Linked DNA regions of Homo sapiens: all the other regions are linked to region 1. Evidence: promoter capture Hi-C in 16 types of primary human blood cells and fetal thymus (Javierre and others, 2016). All regions are on one chromosome and are shown on one strand. Each heading gives the region's core, a stretch centred on a gene start or on the middle of the fragment in contact. The rest is flanking DNA. Distances are from core to core; before and after follow the strand shown. Region 1 holds the start of TFPI2 (tissue factor pathway inhibitor 2). Region 2 overlaps LOC130890646 (a long non-coding RNA gene). Region 3 has its middle 79 kb from the start of BET1. Region 4 has its middle 97 kb from the start of BET1.

Evidence for each region. Contacts are between HindIII fragments. The CHiCAGO score rates a contact against its expected background, and 5 or more counts as called.
Region 2: a fragment that was not itself captured here is called in contact with the fragment with the promoter of TFPI2 in region 1 in 1 of 17 cell types (endothelial precursors); the score reaches 5.1 in endothelial precursors.
Region 3: a fragment that was not itself captured here is called in contact with the fragment with the promoter of TFPI2 in region 1 in 6 of 17 cell types (megakaryocytes, total B cells, M2 macrophages and 3 more); the score reaches 9.6 in megakaryocytes.
Region 4: a contact is called between a fragment that was not itself captured here and the fragment with the promoter of TFPI2 in region 1, in 3 of 17 cell types (total B cells, M2 macrophages and megakaryocytes). The highest score is 6.7, in total B cells.

Annotation. Positions count from the first base shown.
Region 1 is chr7:93,889,229-93,892,388 of GRCh38, forward strand. TFPI2 (tissue factor pathway inhibitor 2) reads right to left here and starts at 1,525. Exons shown (of 5, transcript NM_006528.4): 1 at 1,363-1,525; 2 at 909-1,091. The coding sequence starts at 1,450. TFPI2-DT (TFPI2 divergent transcript) reads left to right here and starts at 1,666. Exons shown (of 2, transcript NR_134235.1): 1 at 1,666-1,851. The HindIII fragment of the contact is 7,194 bases long and covers 271-3,160 here.
Region 2 is chr7:94,039,223-94,042,427 of GRCh38, forward strand. The region is part of intron 1 of LOC130890646 (a long non-coding RNA gene); the gene reads left to right. Among named protein-coding and RNA genes, the nearest start is that of BET1, 36 kb to the left of the region's middle. The HindIII fragment of the contact is 1,077 bases long and covers 1,396-2,472 here.
Region 3 is chr7:94,081,828-94,085,215 of GRCh38, forward strand. No RefSeq gene overlaps it. Among named protein-coding and RNA genes, the nearest start is that of BET1, 79 kb to the left of the region's middle. The HindIII fragment of the contact is 3,160 bases long and covers 51-3,210 here.
Region 4 is chr7:94,099,526-94,103,102 of GRCh38, forward strand. No RefSeq gene overlaps it. Among named protein-coding and RNA genes, the nearest start is that of BET1, 97 kb to the left of the region's middle. The HindIII fragment of the contact is 3,875 bases long and covers 1-3,577 here.

The DNA of each region.
Region 1 (3,160 bases), core at 275-2,774:
AAAAGGAGGGTAATAGAACAATGTTAGTCAAAAGTAGCCTTCTTATTAAACCATCACTGTATTTTCAGCAACATTTTGTGGGGGGAGAGAAGTTGTATTAGTGTTGGGATAGTAAATACCCAGAATACTCCCATGAATCCAGATATTTACTTTTTTTTTTTCTAACAGTGTATTCAGAGCTGACTCAGCTGTGATGTATCTTTCAAGTTCAGTAGAAAGACTCTCTGTTTTCTCTGGGTGTTCTCTGATTGTACATATGCAGTGAATCAAAGCTTATTCACATGAATACGCATTTTCCCCTGGCTCAGTTCCTTGAATGGAAAAGCCCCATGTTCTCTTACAGGCCTTAACCGATATAATTTAAAAATTAAAAATAAATTAAAATATAACAGTATTATGAATCTCCACCATGTCCCGCAACTAATCCAACACATGTTTGGGTATCGGGACAAAAGTAGAGTTATATAATGAGCTAAGTCACACTTCAATAATAAAATCCACTAAAAATATTTCAGATTGATGGATAATCGACAGAAGGAAATGATGTACTCCAGGAGAGATAAAAATCATAGGTTTGGAATTAATGAAAAATACAGAGAAGCACTTACGTTGTACCTAACACGTTATTCTCTTGCATTTATTATACCCCATGGTGAGGGAACAAATCTTTCCCTGAGTCCGCACAGGCACTGAATTATGATCAATGTCAGTTGGGAGACAGGAAATGTGTTAGTGGTTGTAAATTTGTGATTACTTTTAAGAAACTGAAAACCATGAGGTTTGCTTAACACTTGAGAAAACCCAGGCTAAAACTTCCTGTAGAAAGCGAGACGTGGGAAACTGGCGAAGCTGCTACCAGCCGCCGGCGCAAGGAGCGCGAGAGTCCTGGGTGCGCGCAGGGCACTTACTTTCTATCCTCCAGCAAGCATCGTCGCAAGCCTCCCAGGTGTAGAAATTGTTGGCGTTGCCCTCGCAGCCCCCGTACAGGAACTGGCGGCAGCTCTGCGTGTACCTGTCGTAGTAGTAACGGAGAAGTAGGGCCCGGCAGGGTCCGTAGTCTAGGGGCAGGAGACAGATCTCCGCGTTATTTCCTGAAGAAGGGGCAGAAGGAGAGCAAAAGAGAGGGAAAGTGGTCAGGCGTAGCTCCTAGGAGGAAAGAACATCCCGGGGAGTTCTGTCCCCTTCCGAGCGGAGGGGCCTCTGCAGAGAAAGTGCAAACTTGGGAGCGAGTCCCCCCTGCCAGCGGAGCGCGCGGCAGGGACCTGGAGAAAGCGAGGCTTGGAGGGCGCCTACACGGGGCCCCATGGCCCGCTGCGCCCTCTCCGCCGGTTGGGGAGAGAAGCTCCTGGAGCGGCCAGATACCTGTTGGCTCCTGAGCAGCATCGCCCAGTGCAGCCTCCGTCAGGAAAAGCAGCAGAATCGACAGCCCCAGGGGGCGAGCGGGGTCCATGGTGCAGGGGGTCGGGCGGCCCGCTGGGCAAGGCGTCCGAGAAAGCGCCTGGCGGGAGGAGGTGCGCGGCTTTCTGCTCCAGGCGGCCCGGGTGCCCGCTTTATGCGGGGCGAGCGTCCGGCCGACCCCCGCCGGGGCGGAGCCTGAGGGGTGGCTGATTCATGCACGGGGACTGTCACCCCGCCGCCCCCGCGCTGCAAACTGTGTAAGAGGGAGAGGAATTCCCCGCCAAGTTGAAAAGTTGAACCTGCCTCCCAAACTTTCTCCTGTAGTCCAGACGGGGACGCCCTGAGGGAGCGTTTGTGTCAGTAATGGGAAATCTGCAAGCTAGACGGAAATGACCTGCTAGTGATTGCGCTGTAAAGAAGCCGGAATCCACCTCTTGAAGGCATGAAGTTCAGGTATTTGAAAGGCTGGTGGAGAGAAAGTGCGGAGTTCTTGGGTCAGAGCGGAGCGGGATTCGTTGCAATGGACCTTCAGATTAGATTAGAAATGTAAATAAGTGTATATTTATATTTATACACACAGATTTCAATCGAGTTCTAATTTACATTTAATACAGGCTTATAATATATCGTAGGTGGACAGTTTGATAAATTTTGACAACTGTGTAGCCACCAATAAAGAATTAGAACATTTTGGCTGGGCGCGGTAGCTCGCGCCTGTAATCCCAGCACTTTGGGAGGCCAAGGCGGGTGGATCACCTGAAATCAGGAGTTCGAGACTAGCCTGGCCAACATGGCGAAACCCCGTCTCTATTAAAAACACAAAAAATTAGCCGGGCGTGGTGGCGGGCACCTGTAGTCCCAGCCCCTCGGGAGGCTGAGGCAGGAGAATGGCTTGAACCCAGGAGGCGGAGGCTGCAGTGAGCCCAGATGGCGCCACTGCACTCCAGTCTGGGCGGCAGAGTGGAACTCCGTCTCGAAACGAAGAAAAAGAAGAAGAAGAAGAAAAAAAAAAGAGTTAGAACATTTCCATCACTCCAGAAAGCTCCTGCAGACTTTTTCCTAAATCAATCCTTCCATCCTTAGGCCAGGGGCAAACACTCTTCTCATTTCGATTACCATAGATTAGATTTGCCTATTCTTGAATTTCATATAAACGGAATTATAAAGTATTCACTGTGTAGTATTTCTTTCTCACACTTCCTGTTTTTGAGATACGCCCAGGTCACTGCATCAATAGTCTGTTTCTTTTAATTCCTGCGTAGTCCAAGGTATGAATTTACCAAAACGTATGAATATCCCACAATGTATAAATATGTTGCTGTGTGTATCAATAGTCTGTTCCTTTAAATCATTGAGTAATATTCTAATATATCACAAATGTCTTATTACTGGAATTTGTGTTGTTTCTAGTTTGTTTGGGGGCTCTTATGAAAAAAGCTGCTTTGTGTGGACCTGCAATTTTTATTACTCTTGGATAAAATACTTAGAAATGTTAGACACTGCCAAAGGATTTTTTCAAGATGATTGTACCATTTTACACCCCAACCAAGCATGTATGAAGCTATGTTTTTGTATGTATCTATGTTTTTGGAGAAGAACCATAGCAGCCCAGAGAGATAGCCTTGGGGAGTTCTGAAGATTTGACCAGATCAGTGTATTCCCACACATTTCCTAATGTCAGTGCATCCATTAAAGTTCCCTGTTCCTTTGACATATTAGCTTGTGATCCACTTTTTTTTTTAATACAAACAATTACCTACAG
Region 2 (3,205 bases), core at 684-3,183, 150 kb after region 1:
AATATGGGGTTAATCAGATACCTATTTATGTCTCATTTCTCACTTGTCTTAGTGAAATGCACCTTAGTTTGACTCAGAAAGCACAATCAAGTCAGCCTGTTGCACTATCTTTGCCTACTTGCATTTCATTTCTTTCTCGCTTCAACATTTATTAGATGCCTATTTGAGGAGGAGGAAGAGGAGGTTAAAACTATGAAGCATACGCAAATCAGCCACCTTTAAGTGCAGTAATTAAAGATGATAGTTTATATATATTAATATAGTCACTGGCCCTGTTCTTTCAAGTGCTGTGAAATGCGTGGGTTGGATAGAGTTGAGACTTCCTCACATAGGTTCCAGCACCTTTCAGGCAACTGCTATTAGTAGGCAATTACTTGATGGTTTCTGTTAATAGATCAGGTCAGGTTTAACTTGAAGTCACTTGCTTTTATACTGTGTCTCATAACAGTCGGCATTTGGTATCAATTGCTAAAACGTCTTTTCTTCCTCTGGCAGCAGTTGAAATTAATTTGGTGTTCTTCCTGCTGGCTTATCCCTGTGCAACATTATTTCTTCTTAGTTCTTGACATAAAGACTTCCTCTAGCAGGGCAGCCAACCTAATCCCCACAAAGAAAATGGCCCGGCAGGCAACCCAGGCTGTCACAGCAGCAGACACTGAACCCAAACCCAGGTCGGCTGCTCCTTTGCCCCCTTTCTCCTTCTCCATCTGCGTATTTAGAGTGAGACTCTAAAGAGGCTTTTGTGCAAACTTCGACTTATATTAAGAGGATATACACTGTGGTAGGAAAACGAGAGGCTTTGGGTTTAGATAGCCCCTTTTTTACACTTTGATTCCACCCCTTACTTGTGTGACCCGGGACAAGCCATTTAATCTCTCGGTACCTAGTGACTTCATCCGTAAAACAAGAAACTCATTTCAACCCCATATATACATACATACATATGTATTACCTATCATATGCCAGACAGATAGTAAGTTAGTAAGTGCTTCAAAAATTCCTTCTTGGAAGGAAATGTCCTTTCTACAGCCTCAATCCAAAATGAATGGTTGTGATTTTTTGGAGGTAGTCTTTTTAAAGCTCCCCTGACTCAAATAGCCTAGCTGAGTGAAGGGACAGCCTTCTCAGGGCCCTGTGGGCCTGTCACAAGCAATGATTTATGGCTTGTGACAGCACGTGCTCATGTTTGAAACCACAGCTTGCTGAGGCTAGAGTGGGTTTCTGAGGCTTTTGTGTAATGGGCTTTGTTTCATGCTAATAAACACAAAAACTTCTTCTCTATAAACATGTTCCTTATGGACCCCTGAGGCTATAGTGCTGATGAGTTTATTTTTTTAAAGAAAAATAGGATGAACTACAACCACCCAATTAGAGAGACTCAGTCGGATCACTAGAAGCTTTCAGTCCTGGACACAACAGAAGAGGTTTTAAGGGACTCATGCAGGAGAAACCATAATGAGAAAAACACGGAATTTGCTTTTATTCTTAGAAGCAGCTTTGTTTTATCTCTAGGCTCAGAGCTGTGCTGCTGGAACTGAACTCATTTCCCAACAAACTGTTTTTGTTTCTCACTTGTTATGTGAATAACCTCAGAAATGCAGGCATCTTAGTCCCTGCAAGTGCAAAGAGTTTGACGACACAATGAGTAGCTGTGGACAATTTCCAACTCTCACCCGGAAGCCTGTACCTATTGGAAGAGAGTCGCCAAATCCTAGGATGGTTCTGATCCAGGAGCCTCCCTAGGGAAATGTTAACAAAGAGGATGAAACTAAAGAAGTAATTCTCTAGGTACTGCTTTTACCCATGGGCTATTGCCCAGACACTGCCATGTGTGCATTTTTTAAGATTATTTGTGGATGATGGGATCATGGGCAGCTGATGAAGAAAAACATCAGAATAAAAGTTCTAAAGCATAGTAAGCCTCCACCTGTGGAGCCACCCTGATGTGCAGATATATTCTAAAGTTTGAGTCCAAGCTGTTCCAGATCAATGCCATTAAGATTAGGGCTGCATCTCTTCACTGAGCTAGCCAGCTCTGAGATACCACAGCAGAGTTCTGATTACATACATCCCTTCCTTATCTTCCTCTAATTTTTTTTCCTCTGTTGATTCCCCCATTGTTGGCATATCTTATCAAGGTTTGTTTTTCTTTAGGTCGTTATTAAAAATAAGAGAGAAAGATGTACTTGCCTACTCTTAAAGTGGATCTTAAAGCAGATGTGTTTGTTCCATCAACTCATCCTCCGTTCATAGTAGCATATTCAGTACAGATACATTTATTAAACACTAATACCAGCCATATCCTGTACCATGCACTAGGATTCAATAGTGAGCAAAACAGAAACTTAAAACCATAACCAAAAAATCAAAGAAATATAACACTGTAAACTATAATCAGTGGCACAGAGGAGAAGTACAAGCTACAAGAAGAACTTGTAGCTGGGGATCTGATAAAGGCTTATGAGTCACAGAAGCTTTCCTGAGGGATGGTTTTTTTTGGATCAAGACCTGATGAATAAGTAAAAGCAAAAGCAAGATAATTCTGGGCCACAGAAGCAGCAGGTGCAAAGGTCCTGAACCAAAAGGAATTTGGCATATTGGTGGAACTGAAAGCAAGAGAGTGTTGCCAGAAAGCCAAAGATGAGTGGAAGATGACAAAGGCAGGGTTGGGAAGCAGTGGCCACATCAAGTAGGACCAAAGACATTGGGTTTTTAATCTACAAACCAATGAGATACATTTAACGTTTAATAAAAAGAGATATGATCAGATTTGTTTATAAAATATTAAAATAACTGCAGCATGTAGAGCTGATTAAAGAGAGGGTGTGGTGGTTTTAAAGTATGATCACAAATTCTCTTATATTCTTTGTTTCAATAGTTGGAGTATAATTCTTCTCTTGAGTGTGGATGGGTTCAGTGATTCACTCCTAATAAAAACGGACAATGCAGCCCCTACCACATTCTCTTTAATCATTTGTTCTGGAGGAAGCTAGCTGCCCTGTGATGAGAAACTAAAAACTTCTAGCAAGAAGCTTGGAACTCCAACAGCCATGTGATCCAACTAGGGAGCAAATCCTCTAGCCACAGTCAAGCCTTCAGATGATGGTAGCCTCTGTCAACATCTTGACAGACTCCAAGTTAGAACAAACCAGCTTAATGGCTCCTGGCCTCCCGACGTTCAGAAACTGTGTGAGAATATAATTAT
Region 3 (3,388 bases), core at 381-2,880, 190 kb after region 1:
GTTTAATTGAACAATTTTAATACAAAGCAAATTAAGTAAAATAGGATCGAAGCTTCTCTGCAAAGTAATAGTTTACTAAGTTTAGCTAGATGTATGCTTAATGAAAAACCATAATTTTTTCCATGGTTGGAGGAACTGAGACAATGGTTGTTTGTCAAATAATTCAGACCATATATTTAGACTCCTCAGCCACCTATGAAGGTATTGGTAAATTAGCTGGCATCAAGTCTCAACTATGGGCAATTTATGGAAACAATTACAGCCCCAAAGAGTGACAAATTTTCTTCTAATTCTAAAGACAGGGACCAAGGCTTTATATTTTCATAATGAGAATTTTAAAAACTATCTCAAAAATGATGCTTGGCTTCTGCAGTTGGATAGAGAATGTCCTATGATCATTAGGTCTGATCTGTTCTAGAGACAGAGCTGTTAGCAACTCCCAGCCAGGAAGTGCAGATAACTCAGTGGATGGCTCCCTCCACATCAGAGGAAAAACATCTCAGAGTGCCTTTGCTGCACTATCATTCTATGTCAAGGAAATACTGCTTGAGGGTTAATAATAAACTTCTATTCCTTGGTAGAAATATAATAAACTCAATGTAGTAATACAAATGAGATAAATCAAAATAAAGTCCTTGAATTCCAGTACTTTGTGGTTTTCTGTCCTTTGTGCAGCATCACAGGGGTGTATCAATTTATTTCAAGGGTGTTAAATTCTATCATTCACTGCCACCATCTCATAAGAAAAAGTGACACTCTTAAGGCAACAAAACTGAAAGGCATCACAATAAGCTATTTAGCAAAGGTCTGGAATGTCCTCAAGAAAGTCAATGTTGAGGGTAGAGTGTTTCCTCAAGGAAGTGGAGCTATTCCTCATAGCACTGTCTGCAGAGGGTTTGCTGAAAAATCATACAGAGACCCAGCAGCTGCACCATACATCACATATCAGAGTCTTAGGAAAAGGAGATGCACTTTGGAATGGAGATGCTGGAATTAATGCATAGTTAAGAGGTATTTGGACTTTATCATTTTACTGACCAGTAGTAGCTGGTCATTTTTTAAAAACGGGGTCTATTATAGAGGCAAATTTTTTAAGTAAAGATGTTTAAAAATATAGTCATTTAGTATTACTATTTCATGCAGAAAATTAAAAAAAGCATTTAATAGCAACAAAAAGGAAAAACATAGTTCCCAAATAAAACACCATATTTAAATTTAAAAAGAAAAGTAAGCGCTTTGTTAAAAATGTATCCTATTGCCCTATTGCTTTTCTAGATAGAGTGGTGAAAATTTTATCAAGGGTCAAGACCACTCAGTGGACATTGATAAGAACCACCGATGTGCATGATGTTACTTAATGTTGTCCTTTTCACCTGGTAGATACCTTTACAGTGGGATTTGAGAATCTTTGATTTTGAGAAGATTACTACTTCAGCTGCCTGCTGCTGTTCACAGAGCAAATGATGGTTGAACTCCTGGCCGGCGAAATTTCATTTATTTGTTCTGAAAATATTTAATGATGTCATTTTATCTCTTAAGATCCAAATCAAATAGAAAATGTAAAACAATAAACACAAGGTGTCAGGTGTCTGGCTTATACAATCCTTTTAAGAAATGGTCCACAAACAGTGCATCCGAATTAGTTGGTGATACTTTTAAAAACAATGAAGTTTATGGAGCCACACCCAAGATCTGTTTAAATCAGAAAGGTTAGGAGTAAAGCCTAGGAATCTACATTTGTGACATGCTCTATAAGTGATTCTTATATACACCAAACTTTGAAAATAACTTTTTTGGATGACCCCAGATGGACAAGATCATATCCTGCTCTGGGGGCCAAATTAAGTCATTTTTAGCTGCATTTTGAAGGATGGGTAGGACTTGAGGATGAGAATTGGAAGGAAGGGGCATTCTTTTTGGAAATAATGACATGAATGGAAACATAGAAGCAGAAGAACAAATTGTATTTAGCGAATGGTGAGGAGACCAGTGTTGTTGGAGACAAGCTATAATGAAGGGGAAGAGCAAAAAGAAAAATGAAGAAGCACGTAGGAGTGACATTGCGATTGACTGTCCCACTAGAAAGCATCTGCTTCCCATACAACAAATAAATAGAAGGTCCTCCAAGTATAGGTGACCTAAGCAAATATAGTAAATGTTACAGGTTCAAAGATGGTGGAGGGGTGAGAATGGGGGGTTCTGTAGAGCAGGCACTCCTCTATTTTCAATTATCTGTTTACTTATTAATATTCAGCTTTGATCCAAAAATTTAGAAACAAGCTCTGACAATCTAATTTCATTAACAGAATTAATAAATGAGCTTTGTTGATGTGTCTGCATTGTAACATCCTCAGATAAAGCAGTGCTAATCAACTGCTGTGGTGGATAAAGATAAGCACACAAAGACTGTGATGATGTTTCCCTCCCTTTTCATAATTAACTTTCGAATCTGTCATGCTTTTCAAGGTCTAAAATAAAATAGTAGGCAGTGAAAGTTTGATCATCAATTGCATTTAATAACACCAATGGATATTAGATCTTACTGTTCTATTTAATATTTTACTTACTTTTTATTTAAACTTCAGATTCTATCAGATTCTATATTTTCATGCTGTTTCATTCTTAAAACGCTTTCATTCCCAATTCAGGGATATTTGTAGATTCTTACTATTTGAGTGCATGAGTTAAACCTTCCATCTACTGGCTCACTAGGAGGCCTGTCCACCATGAGACCAATCCAGTGCTGAGCCACAAGCTGCAGCAACTGTCATGGTGGAAGAACCCTATGGCCACATTTTGATATTTTTTTCTTCTTGGCCACTTCTTTCATCAGATATTATTCTACAGCTGCCAAAGTCCACACTGCCACCACTGTTCATGGCACACAACTCTAGACCAGTTTGAAATTAGGTGTTCATGTTCAAATTCTGACCTGATCACAGGTCATGGGCCTAGTGTGGAAGAATAATTCAATGTCATGTGGTACAAAACATGGCCAACTATATAAGCAATCACCTGTAAATAACTCTTGAACCCCTTTGGAAAGGAGTTGTGATCATGACAGATTACATTACTGACCTTTCCACTACAGCATACTATTCAGTACAGGGATCTTTTGACACAGGCAACCAGTTTATAAAACCAACATACAATGTGCTTAAAAAGATATTCAATTCATCCATGCTCAAATGATGAAGGCTTGATTCTGGAAGCTTGACCATGAGTGACTGAACTCTGTCGTAGAGAAGTGGCACCTTTCTGATCTGAGTCATAAATAGTGGCATAGGATATGATTTCAAGTTCAAATTTTGTAGCATTGAATTCAAATTTATCAATAAAATATATAAACTCTTCAAGATGAAAAACCTGTGTGAAGTTCACCAGTAGA
Region 4 (3,577 bases), core at 554-3,053, 210 kb after region 1:
GGGTATTTTTATTGGTAAATACACCACTGGTCAGATTTGAGTTAAAAACAAAAACAAAAACTTGATTTATTTTGTTACAATAAAAGCAGCAAAAAAGTACTATAACTACTATCCCGCTTTTGTATAACTCTAGCAAATGTTAACTGAAGAAAATACTTTCACTTTGTTTTTTCTCTAAGGAATGAAGTCTGCAGCCCACCATTACAGCCCATGTTCTGAAACAACCTGCCACTGAGCTCTGTGACCTCCAGCCACACAGAGCTGCCTGCTGGTTCCTCCATCTATGGCCTATGTTCACAGGGTACAGTATGCACCTCTTTGCACTTTATGCTGCCACTAGTCACTTAACTGTCTGTTACCCGCTTGGACTGTGAACTCCCAAAGGCAGAAACCATAATTATTCATCTTAGTGGTTCCTAGCATGTGGCACAACATCTGCATAATGTATGTGCTTGATTAGTGTTAATTGAATAAAAGTAAACTACTTTTATTTTCAGTGGCCTTCTAATTATGTAAAGCAGTATAATTCTAATGAATACTAGAGTCCTAAATGTAACATAACAGTGTATCTCTGTGTTTCAGACATTTTTAAAAAAGAAGTGAATTTTAGTGAAGTACATATTTTCTAATTATGTAAACATAAAATGTCCTCAAATTACTCCAATTTTCTCATGCTCTCTTTTATGTGAGTATGTAGGAAAATGGGGCCTCCTGTTATTATCTGTCCTGTTTGGTTTTAATTAGCATTGTTAACATATAACAAAACATGCAAACATAGGAACATCTAGATGACTATAGCTTTCATTTTTTATTCCCATATTTGGAGGCACATAGATGTAGCCACTTGGTACTTAAATATTTCTTTACAAAACATCAACAGACAGGAAAAAAATGTAAATAGAAATGCTAGTAATTTTAATGAGAGCTAGCTCTAAAAATCCAAGATTAACTCCATCTCAAATACCATAAATAAATACTTATTTTTCTGGACCAATGCTTATCTGGAGCCAGCATCAAACACACAGCTATGACAGATGTCTTAGGACATTTTCCTGAGTAATAAATAAAAAAACAAAAACAAATATAATGAAGGACAAATACTAACCCTATGATTCCTTTCTTCTGCCCTTCACTTCACCAGTTCTATGTAATATGTTATCTTCTGTAATATCCATGCACAGATTACACATGCTATTGAGAGGTGACAGTGTGCTGGCAGCCCTTGCTCGCTCTGGGCACCTCCTCAGGCCACGGCGCCACTCTGGCTGCGCTTGAGGAGCCCTTCAGCCCCCTGCTGCACTGTGGGAGCCCCTCTCTGGGCTGGCCTAGGCCGGGGCCGGCTCCCTCTGTTTGTGGGGAGGTGTGGAGGGAGAGGCGCCGGCGGGAATCGGGGCTGTGCATGCGCTCGCAGCCCAGTGTGAGTTCCGGGTGGGCGTGGGCTTGGTGGGCCCTGCACTCAGAGTGGCCAGCTGGTGCCGCTGGCCCTGGGCAGTGAGGGGCTTAGCACTCCAGCCAGCAGCTGCAGAGGGGGTGCTGGGTCCCCCAGCACTGCCAGCCCGCCTGCTCCACACTCGAATTTTCATGGGGCCTCAGCCACCCCCCTCAATGGGCTCCCGCCAGGCCCCGGACTCCCTGATGGGTGCCGCCCCCTGCTCCATGCACCTGGTCTCATCCACTGCCCAATGGTGGAGTGCAGGCACGTGGCACGGGACTGGTGGGCAGCTCCGCCCGTGGCCCCAGTGCGGGATCCACTAGGCGAAGCCAGCCGGGCTCCTCAGTCAGGTAGATACTTGGAGAACTTTTATATCTAGCTGGAAGATTGTATATGCACCAATCAGCACTCTGTGTCTAGCTCAGGGATTGTAAATGCACCAATCAGCACTCTGTGTCTAGCTCAAGGTTTGTAAACACACCAATCAGTGCTCTGTGTCTAGCTAAAGGATTGTAAACGCACCAATCAGCACTCTGTGTCTAGCTCAGGGATTGTAAATACACCAATCAGCACCCTGTGTCTAGCTCAAGGTTTGTAAACACACCAATCAGCACCCTGTGTCTAGCTCAAGGTTTGTAAATGCGCCAGTTGGTGCTCTGTGTCTAGCTAATCTAGTGGGGACTTGGAAAACTTTTGTGTCTAGCTAAAGGATTGTAAACGCACCAATCAGCACTCTGTGTCTAGCTCGGGGATTGTAAATACACCAATCAGCACTCTGTGTCTAGCTCAAGGTTTGTAAATGCACCAATCAGCACTCTGTGTCTAGCTCAAGGTTTGTAAATGCACCAATCAGTGCTCTGTGTCTAGTTAATCTAGTGGGGACTTGGAGAACTTTTATGTCTAGCTAGACGATTGTAAATACACCAATCAGCACTCTGTGTCTAGCTCAGGGATTGTAAACGCACCAATCAGCACCCTGTCAAAACGGACCAATCAGCTGTCTGTAAAACGGACCAATCAGCTGTCTGTAAAACGGAGCAATCAGCTCTCTGTAAAATGGGCCAATCAGCAGGATGTGGGTGGGGTTAGATAAGGGAATAATAGCAGGCTGCCCAGGCCAGCAGTGGCAACCCCCTGGGTCCTCTTCCACACAGTGGAAGGTTCGTTCTTTCACTCTTTGTAATAAATCTTGCTGCTGCTCATTCTTTGGGTCCGTACTGTCTTTATGAGCTGTAACACTCACTGCGAAGGTCTGCAGCTTCACTCCTGAAGCCAGTGAGACCACGAACCCACCAGAAGGAAGAAACTCTGAACACGTCCAAACATCAGAAGGAGCAAACTCCGGACACACCATCTTTAAGAACTGTAACACTCACCGCAAGGGTCTGCGGCTTCATTCTTGAAGTCAGTGAGACCAAGAACCCACCAATTCCGGACACAGTCATGTACTAAAGAACTATGATACATTTTTGAAATATTGTTGATAATCCTAGCTAAATTTTTAGACAAGAAAACAAGCTCAGGAGGGCAAGCAATTTCATAGATCTCAAAAAGTTCGCGTTGAAGTGAAAAACTATTATTTTGGAATCTGTTGATTATTATATAAAGCCTCAATCCATTTCTGAATATTAATGAATTTTTAATAAAGTCATAATTGTCTTTGTTCCAATATGTTTACAATTTACAACTCTACTTACATGAATGCTCAGAGTAGTTTACAATTAAAATATTTATGTGAGACTGTTAACTATAAAGTGAGTGAGAAGAAATAATCATGTAATTCAATGGTTCTCAACTTGGAGCAATTTTGCTATCCAGGGGACATTTGGCAATGTCTGAAGACATTTTTGGTTGTCACAGCTGGAGTTGAGGGAGCTGGATGGTTGGATTGTTACTGGTGGATAGAGGCCAGGGTTGCTTGTAAATGTCCTACAATGCACAGGACAGCCATTCCTCCTACTTCAACAAAGAATAATGATGTAGAAAAAGGAACAATAATTCAACCAGAAACCAGGTGTAATTAACATTACTAAACATTAATGTTATCTTTTGGTTTATTTCCTGGCAAATCACAATCGATAGAAGATACCTAATAATAATTTTGCAAAGATTATTGAAGTGTTCTCTATATACCTGGGTTTTCTG